Linked DNA regions of Homo sapiens: regions 2, 3 and 4 are each linked to region 1. The links are contacts of gene promoters, found by promoter capture Hi-C in blood cells and fetal thymus (Javierre and others, 2016). All regions are on one chromosome and are shown on one strand. Each heading gives the region's core, a stretch centred on a gene start or on the middle of the fragment in contact. The rest is flanking DNA. Distances are from core to core; before and after follow the strand shown. Region 1 holds the start of SGO1 (shugoshin 1). Region 2 has its middle 1.8 kb from the start of EDEM1. Region 3 overlaps CRBN (cereblon). Region 4 overlaps TRANK1 (tetratricopeptide repeat and ankyrin repeat containing 1).

Region 1 (3,178 bases), core at 443-2,942:
ATAAGTTCAAATATAAACTCCTAAGCATTTCAAGACGGCAACAGCAGAGCATTAAACCAAATGTACAGCCCTTCTAAGCACCGGTTGCCTGCTCATGAAGCTGGCCCTATTCTCTGCTCTCATGTTCCACTTCATAATTTTCTGACCTCAAACAACAAAAAACCTCTCTGCCCATTCCTTCTTGATGCTTCTACACATATAAGCCACATTGCCCAGTGGCAGTAAACTGAGGGTTAATGGAGTTGGTCTGGTTAACTTGGAAAACGAGGGAGTTGTTGGCTGGAGAAGGGTGTTTCAGCCTCTTCCACTCAAGCCAGGATGGGTACCCAGACTAGAGCAAGCATGTGTTAGCTACCTTTAAAAAACAACAACACACCTTCATAAAGAATGCCTAGATTCAAAACATTTGTTTCGTTTTCATTTATTTGTTCCTTTATTGTCCCAGTGAATATTTACTACTTACTTCAAATTGCAACGAGATGCTGACAATTTAGCTATGAACAAAGCAGATGTAGTTCCTGCCCTTATTCAACTTCAAGAAACAGGCAATGAACGACAAGTCAGTGTCACAAGGAATACCAAGGGGAAAATGCAGGGCACTAAGAAAGTGTAAAGCAGACACTCAGGGGCTTTAGGGGTAGATAAGTCTTTCTGGAAGAATTCATCTGTACAGTGAAACTTCAGTATACATAGGAGTAAGTTCGGCCAAGGGAAAGAGTGTTCTTGACAGAACAGCATTGGCAAAAGTGGCAAGAATTTTAAGAAAATTAAAGAAAATGTACAAGTGATGGAACCAGGAATCATGGGGCTCTTTAAGGACAAAATATCTTAAAGGAGTTTGAAATTCACCTTAAATGCAATAGGGAGCCATTGTAAAGTTTCCTATTTGATACTTGTTTTGTAAAAATATTAATCTATGAAGAATATAGGGAGTGGAGTCTGCGGTCAGAGTGGGTACTAGTGCAATTTAGGGAATGAGATTAGGCTGGAAGCTGGATTGGGGGGAAAAAGATGGGCATGAGAGAAACTTGGAAAGCAGAGTTGAGAAGATCGTGTGACCGACTGGACGGGCAAAGGTTAAGAGAGGATAAATAATCATTAAGGACGATTTCTCAGGCTTCTAGTCGGTAACTGGATGGATGTTGGTGCCATTTCTCGAGAAGAGTTAAAGAGCCAGAGATAGCCGGCAAAGAGAAACATGGAGCTAGAATTTTCAGGTATCTGCAGTTTCCCTAATACCTTTTTAATCCAGAATTTGCTCCTTGTTTTGGTTTTAATTCCTCTAAAAGCTGCTTCCGTGTTGCAAGCTGGCTGACCGCTTTAACAGGCAACCAAAGAGATTCTTCTCACAAGAGGGAGGCTTTGAGCACAACCCGGGACATTTGAAGCTGTCAGACTGAAGAAACAGGAAGCTTTGAACTACCTATCACACTCGGCCTTAAAGGTTTCGGAGTAACTCCACCCGTAAAATCCCCACGACTCTGATTAGAAAGTCCCGGCGGGTCGCCGAGACCCGACCGCAGGCTCCGCCCCAGGGCCAGGTGGATGCCCGGATGTGGACTTGAGCGAATGTGCGTCACGTGACGTCGCCTGGCGGGGCGGGACTCTGCCTGCGACGGTGGTGTTGGGTGCATCCTGCGCCACGTGACCGCCTCCCAGCCAACCAATGGAGGAGCGAGGCGGAAAATTTCGAATGTGGCGGCGGTAGTTCCAGGCGACGGCGGACGGTGGTACGGTCCTGGAGGGCCCAGTGCGCGGGGCTAGCCGTGGCTGGAGAGCTTCGAAGAGCCTTGAAATGTGAGGAGGAGGAAGATAGCTGTTGCAGAAGTAGTGGCCAAGGTATCGTTCTGGACGCGCCTGCGGCAGGAGGGTCGCCGCGTCCACTTCCGCCAGCCCCACCTCCCCCCGGCCTTCCTGGAGTCCCTGAAAGAGGAAGAAGTAGGTTTTAAGGTGCGAAACAAGGGCGTAGTGATCCCTGTTTGACTTCCCTTCGGTTTTCAGTATCATTCTAAATTCGGTGGCCGAAAGCTCGGGCCGTGGAGTCCCACTCGCCGCGCTTTTCGCCGTTCAGCCACTCGATCTGCGCTTTCAGATGTTCCGGCTTCCATGGAGACCCTAATTTCCTACTTTGCAAAATTGTGTAGATTAAGTGATGTGCAAATAAAGCTTTTACAATAGCTAAAAGCCTGGCTCAACGTAAGGACACAAGAAAATTGACAGCAGTTCTTTGTGCAGCGTGATACCGTTGACGTCCTCCTTGTCCAGGCCATTCTCTTCCTCACTTACCCTGGAGAGGCCGGCACTGACTAGTATCCTACCTGGCTGTCTTCGCAGCAGGACTAATTGGAGAATTATGGACGGAGATCAAATATGCTAGGTTCTTTAAATCCAGAGCGCTTACACGAGTACTGTACAGATTGAGACCGTCATCTCGCGCTGTGGTCTGTCTTTGCTTTCATCCCTTCTGTCTACCACACCCCCTGCTAATAACCATCGCCTTATTTAGACAGGATATAAAACTTTTGATATGGCAAGTTTCTTTTGTGATTTTTAACTTGATTAAAAGTAATAACGAAAGCTTTTTAGGTAAGGCTTTGCCTTTAAAATACCTTAACTAAACTAGATCCGTTACTTAATCTGTATGACTCTCAAACATCTCCAATTCTAACTTAATTGTGTAAAACAACCCCTTTACCGTTCGTGCTTTTAAAAATAGCTACCCTATCTCTGCTAGGAACCTCCCAGTACATATTGTATATACCTTGGTAGAAAGAAAGTTCTTAAGTGGTATCTACAATACCTATATTTAAGATTCCAGACACTGCATAGAGGAAAATAAGGCCTGGAGGAAATACTCAAGATTAAGTGTAAGGTTTAGGAAAATATTTGACTATCGTAGAGGAGATGAAGATATCCTTTGTAGTGAAAATTCTGTGCATAGATTGTTATTGGAAACAAGTCTTTTTTTTTTGCAATTTTAAGATCTGCAAAGTGCAATCTAGCGTAAAAGATGTTTGTGAAAAGTGGTTTGACATGTTTAGTAGCATGCTAAAGCCTACCTGATTTGCAACGTTGAAAGATTAAGTATAGTTATGTATTTAATACTCAACGTTTAACTGTATGTACAACAATATTTAATGTCTGATTTGTTATGTTCATAATTTACTGGGAGTTAACA
Region 2 (3,320 bases), core at 165-2,664, about 15 Mb after region 1:
CGCGGCCCAGGACTCCCTCCCACGCAGTAGGCCGCCAGGACGTCCGCGACGCCCCGAGGCCCCGCCCCTCACCCGGGCCCCGCCCCAACTCCCAAGCCCCGCCCCCCTGGGCGGTCCGTAGCCCGATGGGCTGGCGTGGCGAGCAGGAGCCGCGCCGGCCCGCGAGGGAACTTCCAGCCAATGGGAGAGCGGCACGGCAGCGCCCGCCGGACGCTGGACACAGACGTGACCCCAGACCGCCTGGCCTTGGGTGGATCGGGTCTCTGGGCAGAGCGTGTGTCCGGCAGAGCTAGGACCGGAAAAAGCCACTCTAGGTCTAGGTTAGGAGTGATGACAGTTAAAAGATATATAAGGAAAAGAAGGAAAGGATCGTTTCTGTATAAAACGAGCTATTTTTGCATATCGAGCGCATAAGTTTTATAACTTAGGTGTCTGTTTATGGAGAGGGTGGGATACTACCTTTTAGCTCAAGGAGTGCACAAAACGGTATCATGAATTCTGCTCTTTTGATTCAAACACCCAACTTTGAAGAATCGCTCATGGTGCTTGTAAAACACGTATCCCCAGATCCCTCCCTAGACCTATCGAACAACTCCAACGGTCTCGGGAATGTGCGTGTAAGTACTCTTGGACAGTTCTTAGAAACTGGAAGTTTCAGGAAATACAAAGTTATGTTATATTGCTTTTGTCTCGGAAATAGGATTTTTTTAAAAGGGGGGGGCGGGTTGGGGGTGGGAATGAAGGCTCCCACCACCACCAAATTATTTACCAGATATATCTAAACATGTCTTCTCCTGTCCCTCCCATCCTACCATCTCTCCTGTGCACCCGCAATTAGTGACCTAACCTTTGAGGTGTGGGGTAGATTCCCAGTTAAATAACTTTACCCCTCTGTATCTACTTCCTATAATTAAGAAGATTGCAAATGTTAGCTCTAAAGGGCTATGGCTTTCACATAAAGATTCAATGGTTTAGGCGCTTATTTATTTTGCTTGCTGCATTTGGAGTTGGCTGTAAGTTTTGCCCTCCCTAAGTTTAGACCCTATGCCTGTTTCATCAGGGTTTCTGAAAAGCTTGGGAAGCAAGACCTGACTAGACCCCCAAATCTGATATTGGCTGAATGGCCGACCAATGGAGTGCATAAGAAGGTAAGTTGTCATGTGGCACTCTCATCACATTTTCAGGGTAGAGGACTTTCTGAAATACAGAGGAGGTGTAAGGGGAACTAAGAAAACACTTGATTACAGCACATGGTAGCTGGCACATAGGAAGGTCCTTACTGTTGGCTGAGCCTTGTTCTTTCCCAACATTGAGACATCGAGAGCAGCCCAAGCAGCAAAAAGATTACGAAGACAGCTTGAGCCAGGGTCTTTAGACTACACAGCTTCTGCTTTTTCCCCTCTGTGAAGGATGCCTAGGGACTGTGCTGGCAGCCCAGCTCCAGCCCTTGATCCTGAACTTCTGCCTTCCTGGAACTTGCAAACTGAATGTGAATATTCAGTTGCATGTTGCATGTTTCCTTCCGGGGCTACTTTATTGCAAATTTTAACTTAAATTTGACCTGGTTAACTGCAGGCCACATTGAGGACAGCTTCTGTCTTGATGTTAGAGAAAAACTCTTATAAAAATAAATCTTTTAATAACCAGAGAAAACCATCCAACTCCTGAAAGATGCTTTTCATAGTAAAACTGATGGTTTTCAAAACACTTTGACATGTGTGCTTATTTAATCTTCATAGAAAACTGTAAAGCTTATTCCACAAGCCATAATGGAAGAAATCAGGTTGGGGGCTCAATTCTCAGAGCCTGTTGGCTCTAGGCAGAAAGGGAGTTACTACACTTTAGGGCAATTTGCACTTCAAATAGCTGGCCCTTGAGCAGACAGGTCCCTCTGCTCTTTCCAAGCCACCCAAAAGCAATAGTTTTGACATTAGTGCCCTGCAAGGCATAGCCTAGGCATTAGGGTCTAGGTTCAGAAAGTGTTTCCTTCTGGAATGAAACTGAAATGAAAGAAATGGGTTATTTTGTGCTAGTCCTTTCGATTAGGACTCTCCTTAAGCTAAATGTACTGATAAGATTGGGACAACACCCATACCCAATCAGAAAACTCCAGTCTTGAAAATCAACTCTTTAAGATAAACAGTTTGATTTGTGACAGGTTTTCCGGTAATCTCACAAGCGCATCAGGGACTGATAAAAAAGGAAAGGAGGCACTTTTTCAGTGTAAAAATGGCTTTACTCTGGGGAATGCAAAGAGATGACAACTAAGAACTCACATTCAGAAGTCAGGTGTTCAAATCGTAGCTCTGCCCTAAGAGTGACCTTGGGAAGTTACTTTTCTAGGACTTGTTTCCTCATCCATAAAATGGGTGAGTGATGAGGACAATGTTTATCACAGTTGTGATTACATCATATATATATATAAAGTACTTACAACCGTGCTACATAGTGAGACCTATTAATACTTTTCAACTCTGAAACTTTTAAAACTAGCACCCGGCTGGGCGTGGTGGCTCACACCTGTAATCCCAGAACTTTGGGAGGCCAAGGCAGGCAGATCACTTAAGGTCCGGAGTTCAAGACCAACCTGGCCAAAATGATGAAACCCCATCTCTACTAAAAATACAACTACCCGGGCGTGGTGGTGGGCGTCTGTAATCCCAGATACTCAGGAGGCTGAGGCACGAGAATCACTTGAATCCAGGAGGCAGAGGTTGCAGTGAGCTGAGATAGCGCCACCACACTCCATTCTGGGCAAGAGAGTGAGACTGCGTCTCAAAAAAAAAAAAGTATTTCAAAAGCAGAGGTTTTGCAAAGCTGAAGGCCTAAAAAAAAGTATATAATTACAGTTCAAACTTATTTGATGGGCACAAATCCAAGTTTGTCAACATGCTCTGTTAGCAAGATACAGGATACTCGAGAGGCTGAGGCAGGAAGATCCCCTGAGCCAGTAGTTTGAAGCTGCGTTTCCTATGATCGTGGCTGTAAATAGCCAATGCAATTACCTGGGTAACAGTGAGACTTCATCTCTTTTTTAAAAAGGCATAGGGGACTGGGACTGGTAAAAACAAAAACTAGTACTTCCCGTGTGAAGGGTCATTTGGCAATTCCTAGTGTCAGAAAAAAATTACAACAAATTTACTTACAGATCTAACTGGCGTTTATTCATAACTTATGAATGGGGCAGCCTCCATTCTACAAAACAGAATGAAAGCTCCCAATGAGAAACAGCAGAATAGTGGGTTTTGTAAGATGAGAGCAAGGAAACAAAACAATGAAAAATAACTGATTGGTTAACATCGGGTTACTTTTTTTTTAAG
Region 3 (3,030 bases), core at 232-2,731, about 17 Mb after region 1:
TTAAGCAAAATAGTATGCAAATGATTGCAAAATTTTCTTTGTTTCTTTCTTTTGAGATGGAGTCTTGCTCTGTCGCCCAGGCTGGAGTGCAATAGCACAATCTCAGCTCACTGCAACCTCCACCTCCTGGGTTCAAGCGATTCTCCTGCCTCAGCCTCCCCAGTAGCTGGGATTACAGGCACCTACAACCACACCCGGCTAACTTTTGTGTTTTTAGTAGAGATGGGGTTGCAACATGTTGGCCAGGCTGGTCTTGAACTCCTGACCTCAAGTGATCTGCCTGCCTCGTCCTCCCAAAGTGCTGGGATTACAGGTGTGAGCCACCACACCTGGCCTTCATTTTAAGATAATGTAGCGACTGCCAGGGAAATGTTGTCACTAGAAAAATGCTGTGAAATTCTTCCTGCTAGGTTATCTTTCTCTCAGTTTTAATTAACAGATCTTGCCTGCTTTGTTTCTTTTCTTACTTATGTAGGAACTGATTGAAGTTGAGAGTTTGAGAGAACGTTAGAGGTTGACTTGTTGAAGCCTATCATTTTGCAGATGAGGAAACTAAAATTTAATTGGGCAGAATGAGTTGTCTAAGGTGTTAAAATTAGTTACTGGTGAGGGAGAAGAGAAAAATCTCCCATATAGAAGAATTTTAAATAACTTACATTTCCTCTTCAAGGGAGTGGAGCATAACTCATCACCCCTGAAGTGGAGGCTACACCTAGTGATTTGCTTCCGAAGGGTACAATGTGAAAAGGAGGGGGGAAAGGAACTTTACAGCGGAAAAACCTGACACACACTGCTGTAGCCAGGTGATCAAGGTTAACAGCAGGAATAGTTCATAATATATAGGCTGGATATGTAATAAAAACAGCACATTGGCAACAGACCCCATTTCTAAAAAGGAAAAGAATAACAACACTTCACTTCTGTGGTCTTCCTCCCTAAAACACGTATCCTCAGTCTAATCATGGGAATTACATCAAACAAAACCCAGTTGAGGGATACTCTACAAAAGGCCTGACCAGTACTCCTCAAAACTCAGAAACAAGCAAAGTCTGAAAACCCCCCTAGCCCAGAGGAGGGTAGGGGGACCTGATAACTAAATGTAAAGTGGGATCCTGGAACGCAAAAAGACTAGATAAAAACTAAGGGAATCCATTTAAAATATGAAGCTTAGTTAGAGTAATGTACCAAGACTGATTCCTTCGTTGTGGCAAATGTACCATACTAATATAAATTAACTATAGGGGAAAAGGATGTGTGACACACGGGAGCATTCTGTACTATCTTTACACTTCTCTGTAAATGTTAAACTATTCTAAAATTCACAGTTGACTTAAAAAAAAAAAATAGCTACTGACAGAGCCCAGCACGGACCCCAGTCCTCTGGCTCCCTCTTCACGGTGCTGTAGAGTTTACCAAATGCATGTGGTTTTAGAAGTACCCCTCTTTTGAAGAAGGAATTACATGTTTGAAAGGTTTTCATTCATCTTTTTTTTTTTCTTACAATATTCTACTTTTATAGCAGAGAGTGAGGAAGAAGATGAAATGGAAGTTGAAGACCAGGATAGTAAAGAAGCCAAAAAACCAAACATCATAAATTTTGACACCAGTCTGCCGACATCACATACAGTATGTAATTTAGTGACAGATCTAATATAATAGATATACATTTAAATGTAGATAAAAGTTCATAAAAACAAGTGACTGATATTTGTATTACTAGATATCAGAAATTGTGGATGAGGACATGGGCTATTTGCCAGTAGATAAACATTTAACTGTAATTTTTAAGAAGCTTAATACTATGTTGTGGTAGAATTGTTTGAGGAATTGTTGCTCTTTATACTCTTTCTGGTAATTGAGCTATTAAATACTTCTCTGTACTTCTAGGTACTAGAGTGTTATTGAACATACTAACATTTTATACTTACTGTTTGTGATATGTGGGCATAGAGATATTTCTTGGTAAAAATAATACTTTGTACTAAAAAAATTCTTGAATTTCTGTGTTTGTGATATATTCATAAAAGATTAGAAATTCTTCTAAGAGTTAAAGTTAGATTAAAAATTATATTTTAACATGGGATGCTTATATACCACGTTTATTAAGTGTTTGTAACCCCATTTGTATTTTTTTCTTTTTTTTTGAGACAGAGTGTTGCTCTGTCGCCCAAGCTCGAGTGAGTGCAGTGGCACAATCTCAGCTCACTGCAGCCTCCACCTTCCAGGTTCAAGTGATTCCCCTGCCTCAGCCTCCCGATTAGCTGGGATTACAGGTGTCCACCACCACACCTGGCTAATTTTTGTATTTTTAGTAGCAACAGGGTTCCACCATGTTGGCCAGGTTGGTCTTGAACTCCTGACCTCAGGTGATCCGCCTACCTCGGCCTCCCAAAGTGCTGGAATTACAGGTGTGAGCCACTGTGCCCGGCCTGTATTTCTTTTAATGTGATTTGCTCTTTAGTCTGTTGAGCTTACATTTTTATTACATATCGATCATGACACTATACCTATATATGTTTTTATATAGTACCTAGGTGCTGATATGGAAGAATTTCATGGCAGGACTTTGCACGATGACGACAGCTGTCAGGTGATTCCAGTTCTTCCACAAGTGATGATGATCCTGATTCCCGGACAGACATTACCTCTTCAGCTTTTTCACCCTCAAGAAGTCAGTATGGTGCGGAATTTAATTCAGAAAGATAGAACCTTTGCTGTTCTTGCATACAGGTAAAATATTAGAGTCCATTTGCTTAATACATTCCCTCTCATGGGTAATTGCAGTGGTCAGTGTTGAAGCCAAAGCAGGCTGTTATTTCGCATGTACAGGAGAGGTTGGGTAAGAATGTGAGGTTAGGAATTTGGTTAAGTAGAAGTTTGATAGTGCAAGTTGGAGTATTTTTGTTCATTTCATTACCATCTAACTCAGCTCTTCACCTTCATACACAATTTAACTTTCTGGTATTTGAAAAATTTTTAATCATTTATATTTGATGAAAAACATTTCTGGAATCTTAGTTTCAATAACTG
Region 4 (2,925 bases), core at 147-2,646, about 17 Mb before region 1:
TTTCTTAGAAAGAGGTAGTATTGTGTAGTGTTTATGGTTGTAGACTGACCCCACACTATGTGTGTTCAAAGCTCAGCTCCACCACTTACTGTGTGACCCCTACTGGGACTTCTGCCTGGACCCTCATGTTGCCTTTTGTGGGACCTTCCTGACACTGTTCCCCTTGCCCATCACCTGCTGCTGGCCTTCCTGCCACAGCTAGCTAACACTGAGACTCAGGTGCATGTGATTTACAGCGTACTTGCAGGAGAAAGGGGACTGAGGGAGGCAGGATGGCACAAGGAAGGCTCTAAGCAGGGATGGTGTCTAAACCAAGCAAGATTTGCCTGATCCCATAGGCAGCTCTGGAGCATGAATCATACTGCAGAGCTGGTTCCATCTTGAGGCAAGGAGGTTAACCTTTTGATTCTCATATCAGTCAGTCACTGGTTTTAGGCTGTCTGGCTCCCGGCAGTCATCCTAGGGAGTGGGCTATATTAGTCTGCTTGCGCTACCATAACAAAATAGCACAGACTGGGTGGCTTAAACAACAGAAATTTATTTTTCAAAGTTCTACAGGCTGGGAAGTCCAAGATCAAGCTGCCCCCTGTGAGGGCTGTCTTCCTGGCTTGTAGATGGTTGCCTTCTCACTGTGTTACGTGCAAAGAGGAGAGAGCAAGCTCTCCAGCGTCTCTTCTTATTCCATTGTGAGGACTCCACCCTCATGACCTCAGCTAAACATAATTACCTCCCAATGGTTCCATGTTCAAATATTGTCACATTGAGGGGTAGGGCTTCAACCCAGGGATTTTTTTTTTTTTTTTTGAGACAGAGTCTTGCTCTGTCTCCCAGGCTAGAGTGCAACGGCACGATCTCGGCTCACTGCAAGCTCCGCCGCCTCCCGGGTTCACGCCATTCTCCTGCCTCAGCCTCCCGAGTAGCTGGGACTACAGGCACCTGCCACCACGCCCGGCTAATTTTTTGTATTTTTAGTAGAGATGGGGTTTCACCGTGTTAGCCGGGATGGTCTCGATCTCCTGACCTCGTGATCCGCCCGCTCGGCCTCCTAAAGTGCTGGGATTACAGGCATGAGCCACTGTGCCCGGCCTACCCAGGGATTTTTTTTTTTTTGGCAGTTGGGGATGGGGGAAGTTCAGTCCCTAGTATGGGTGTAACTTCCTGGGGAGAGGGTAGCTCTCATTAGGCTGAGGATAAATCTCTGGAGAACAGGGTGCTGAGAACCTCTAGCTGCAGCCAACAGACATTGCAGCTGGGAATGGCTGCACTGGCCAGAGTGTCTGGGATGGACACCATGGCATCTCTTACACTTGCGGTCACTGCTCCCTTGCTGATCCCTCACTGCCTGACCCCACTGCCTCCTGTGTGCTTCTGGGGCCTCATCCCTTCACCTAGAGGGAATGTTGGGCCATGAAAGAAGCCAGACACAAAACATCGAGGGTGGGGACAGTAATGGAGGTGATTTTTCCTTTGTTTATTAATATTTTTGTGCTTGTCTGCATTATCTACAGTGATTTTTGTATTATTCTACAGTGATTTGTATTATTTTTACGATTAAGATTTTTTTTTTTCTTTTTTTGAGACGGAGTCTTGCTGTGTTGCCAGGCTGGAGTGCAGTGGTGCGATCTTGGCTCACTGAAATCTCCTCCTCCTGGGTTCAAACGATTCTCCTGCCTCAGCCTGCCATGTAGCTGGGACTACAGGTGCACCCCACCACACCCAGATAATTTTTTTGTATTTTAGTAGAGATGGGGTTTCACCATGTTGGCCAGGATGGTCTCGAACTCCTCGCCTCGGCCTCGGCCTCCCGAAGTGCTGCGATTACAGGCATGAGCCACTGCGCCTGGCCTATTTAATATCTTAATTATGTAATCCCAGCACTTTGGGAAGCTGAGGCAGGCGGATCACGAGGTCAGGAATTCGAGACCATCCTGGCCAACATGGTGAAACCCCATCTCTACTAGAAATACAAAAATTAGCCGGGTGTGGTGGTGTGCACCTGTAATCCCAGCTACTCGGGAGGCTGAGGCAGAAGTGCTTGAACCCAGGAGGTGGAGGTTGCAGTGAGCTGAGATTGCACCACTGCATTCCAGCTTGGGCGACAGAGTGAGACTCTGTCTCAAAGATATTAAATAAAAAAGAAGTCATAAGGCTTGCTTTTTTTATTTGTGTGTCTTATATTCCATTGGTAGCTGGGCTTCTCTTGACATATTGTGGTTTGCTTTGAATTTTCCTTTTTCTTCTGGCCTGGTTTCAGCATTAACTTGCAGCTATATTACCTCTAGACCAAGGCCAGAGCCATCCCTGCCCTGCTGCGCTTTAAAGGGCCCTCCTTTGGCCATCTTCCAGCTGTGCCCCTCCTCACAGGCAGGAGTCTGTGGGGCCAGGGCCGTACTCACCCAGAGTTCTTGCATCCCCTTTGGTCTACACTGTGGGTACCAAGACTATGGAATTCCCTGCCTTATAGGCCCTGCTCCCAGGGCCTGCACAGGCCTCTTACCTGAAGCCGATTCTTCTGAGGGCTGGCAATGGAGATGAAATGATTATGCGTGGAGATCAGTGAGAGATGGAACCAACCTGTTGAGAACAATTGTCATTAAAAGACGGGAGCAGAGTATTTGGGAGTGAGGAAGGACAGATTTATATATTGTAAATGTTCCAGGCTCGTTTGGGGTCTGGGAGACTGATCTGATAAGCATGAATGAGTCATTTCCTACTGAAACCCCCTTCCTGATGGCAGCAGCCAGCACCGAATGGGGGGACTTCACAGACTGTTTTCTGTATTTGCAGAACCATGACAGACCACCGGTTTGTTCTTACAGGGTTCCCCCGAGGGACTTGGCTGTGCTGCTGTGCAACAAATCAAATGCATTTTTCAGCCTTGGGAAGTGGAATGAGGCATTTGTTGCTGCCAAGGAATGTCTCCAA

What was found. Contacts are between HindIII fragments. The CHiCAGO score rates a contact against its expected background, and 5 or more counts as called.
Region 2: a contact is called between a fragment that was not itself captured here and the fragment with the promoter of SGO1 in region 1, in 2 of 17 cell types (non-activated CD4 T cells and naive CD8 T cells). The highest score is 7.6, in non-activated CD4 T cells.
Region 3: a contact is called between a fragment that was not itself captured here and the fragment with the promoter of SGO1 in region 1, in 1 of 17 cell types (activated CD4 T cells). The highest score is 5.8, in activated CD4 T cells.
Region 4: a fragment that was not itself captured here is called in contact with the fragment with the promoter of SGO1 in region 1 in 1 of 17 cell types (total CD4 T cells); the score reaches 6.3 in total CD4 T cells.

The regions. Positions count from the first base shown.
Region 1 is chr3:20,184,720-20,187,897 of GRCh38, reverse strand. It overlaps SGO1 (shugoshin 1), which reads left to right and starts at 1,692. Exons shown (of 8, transcript NM_001199251.3): 1 at 1,692-1,950. SGO1-AS1 (SGO1 antisense RNA 1) reads right to left here. Exons shown (of 4, transcript NR_132785.1): 4 at 1,783-1,923. RefSeq lists enhancers at 1,215-1,274, 1,295-1,974. The HindIII fragment of the contact is 754 bases long and covers 1,415-2,168 here.
Region 2 is chr3:5,184,252-5,187,571 of GRCh38, reverse strand. No RefSeq gene overlaps it. Among named protein-coding and RNA genes, the nearest start is that of EDEM1, 1.8 kb to the left of the region's middle. RefSeq lists a silencer at 1-236 and an enhancer at 1,348-1,407. The HindIII fragment of the contact is 678 bases long and covers 1,076-1,753 here.
Region 3 is chr3:3,173,759-3,176,788 of GRCh38, reverse strand. CRBN (cereblon) reads left to right here. Exons shown (of 11, transcript NM_016302.4): 2 at 1,520-1,626; 3 at 2,528-2,730. Among named protein-coding and RNA genes, the nearest start is that of CRBN, 4.4 kb to the left of the region's middle. The HindIII fragment of the contact is 626 bases long and covers 1,169-1,794 here.
Region 4 is chr3:36,903,170-36,906,094 of GRCh38, reverse strand. It overlaps TRANK1 (tetratricopeptide repeat and ankyrin repeat containing 1), which reads left to right. Exons shown (of 24, transcript NM_001329998.2): 3 at 2,820-2,925. Among named protein-coding and RNA genes, the nearest start is that of TRANK1, 40 kb to the left of the region's middle. The HindIII fragment of the contact is 3,946 bases long and covers 1-2,925 here.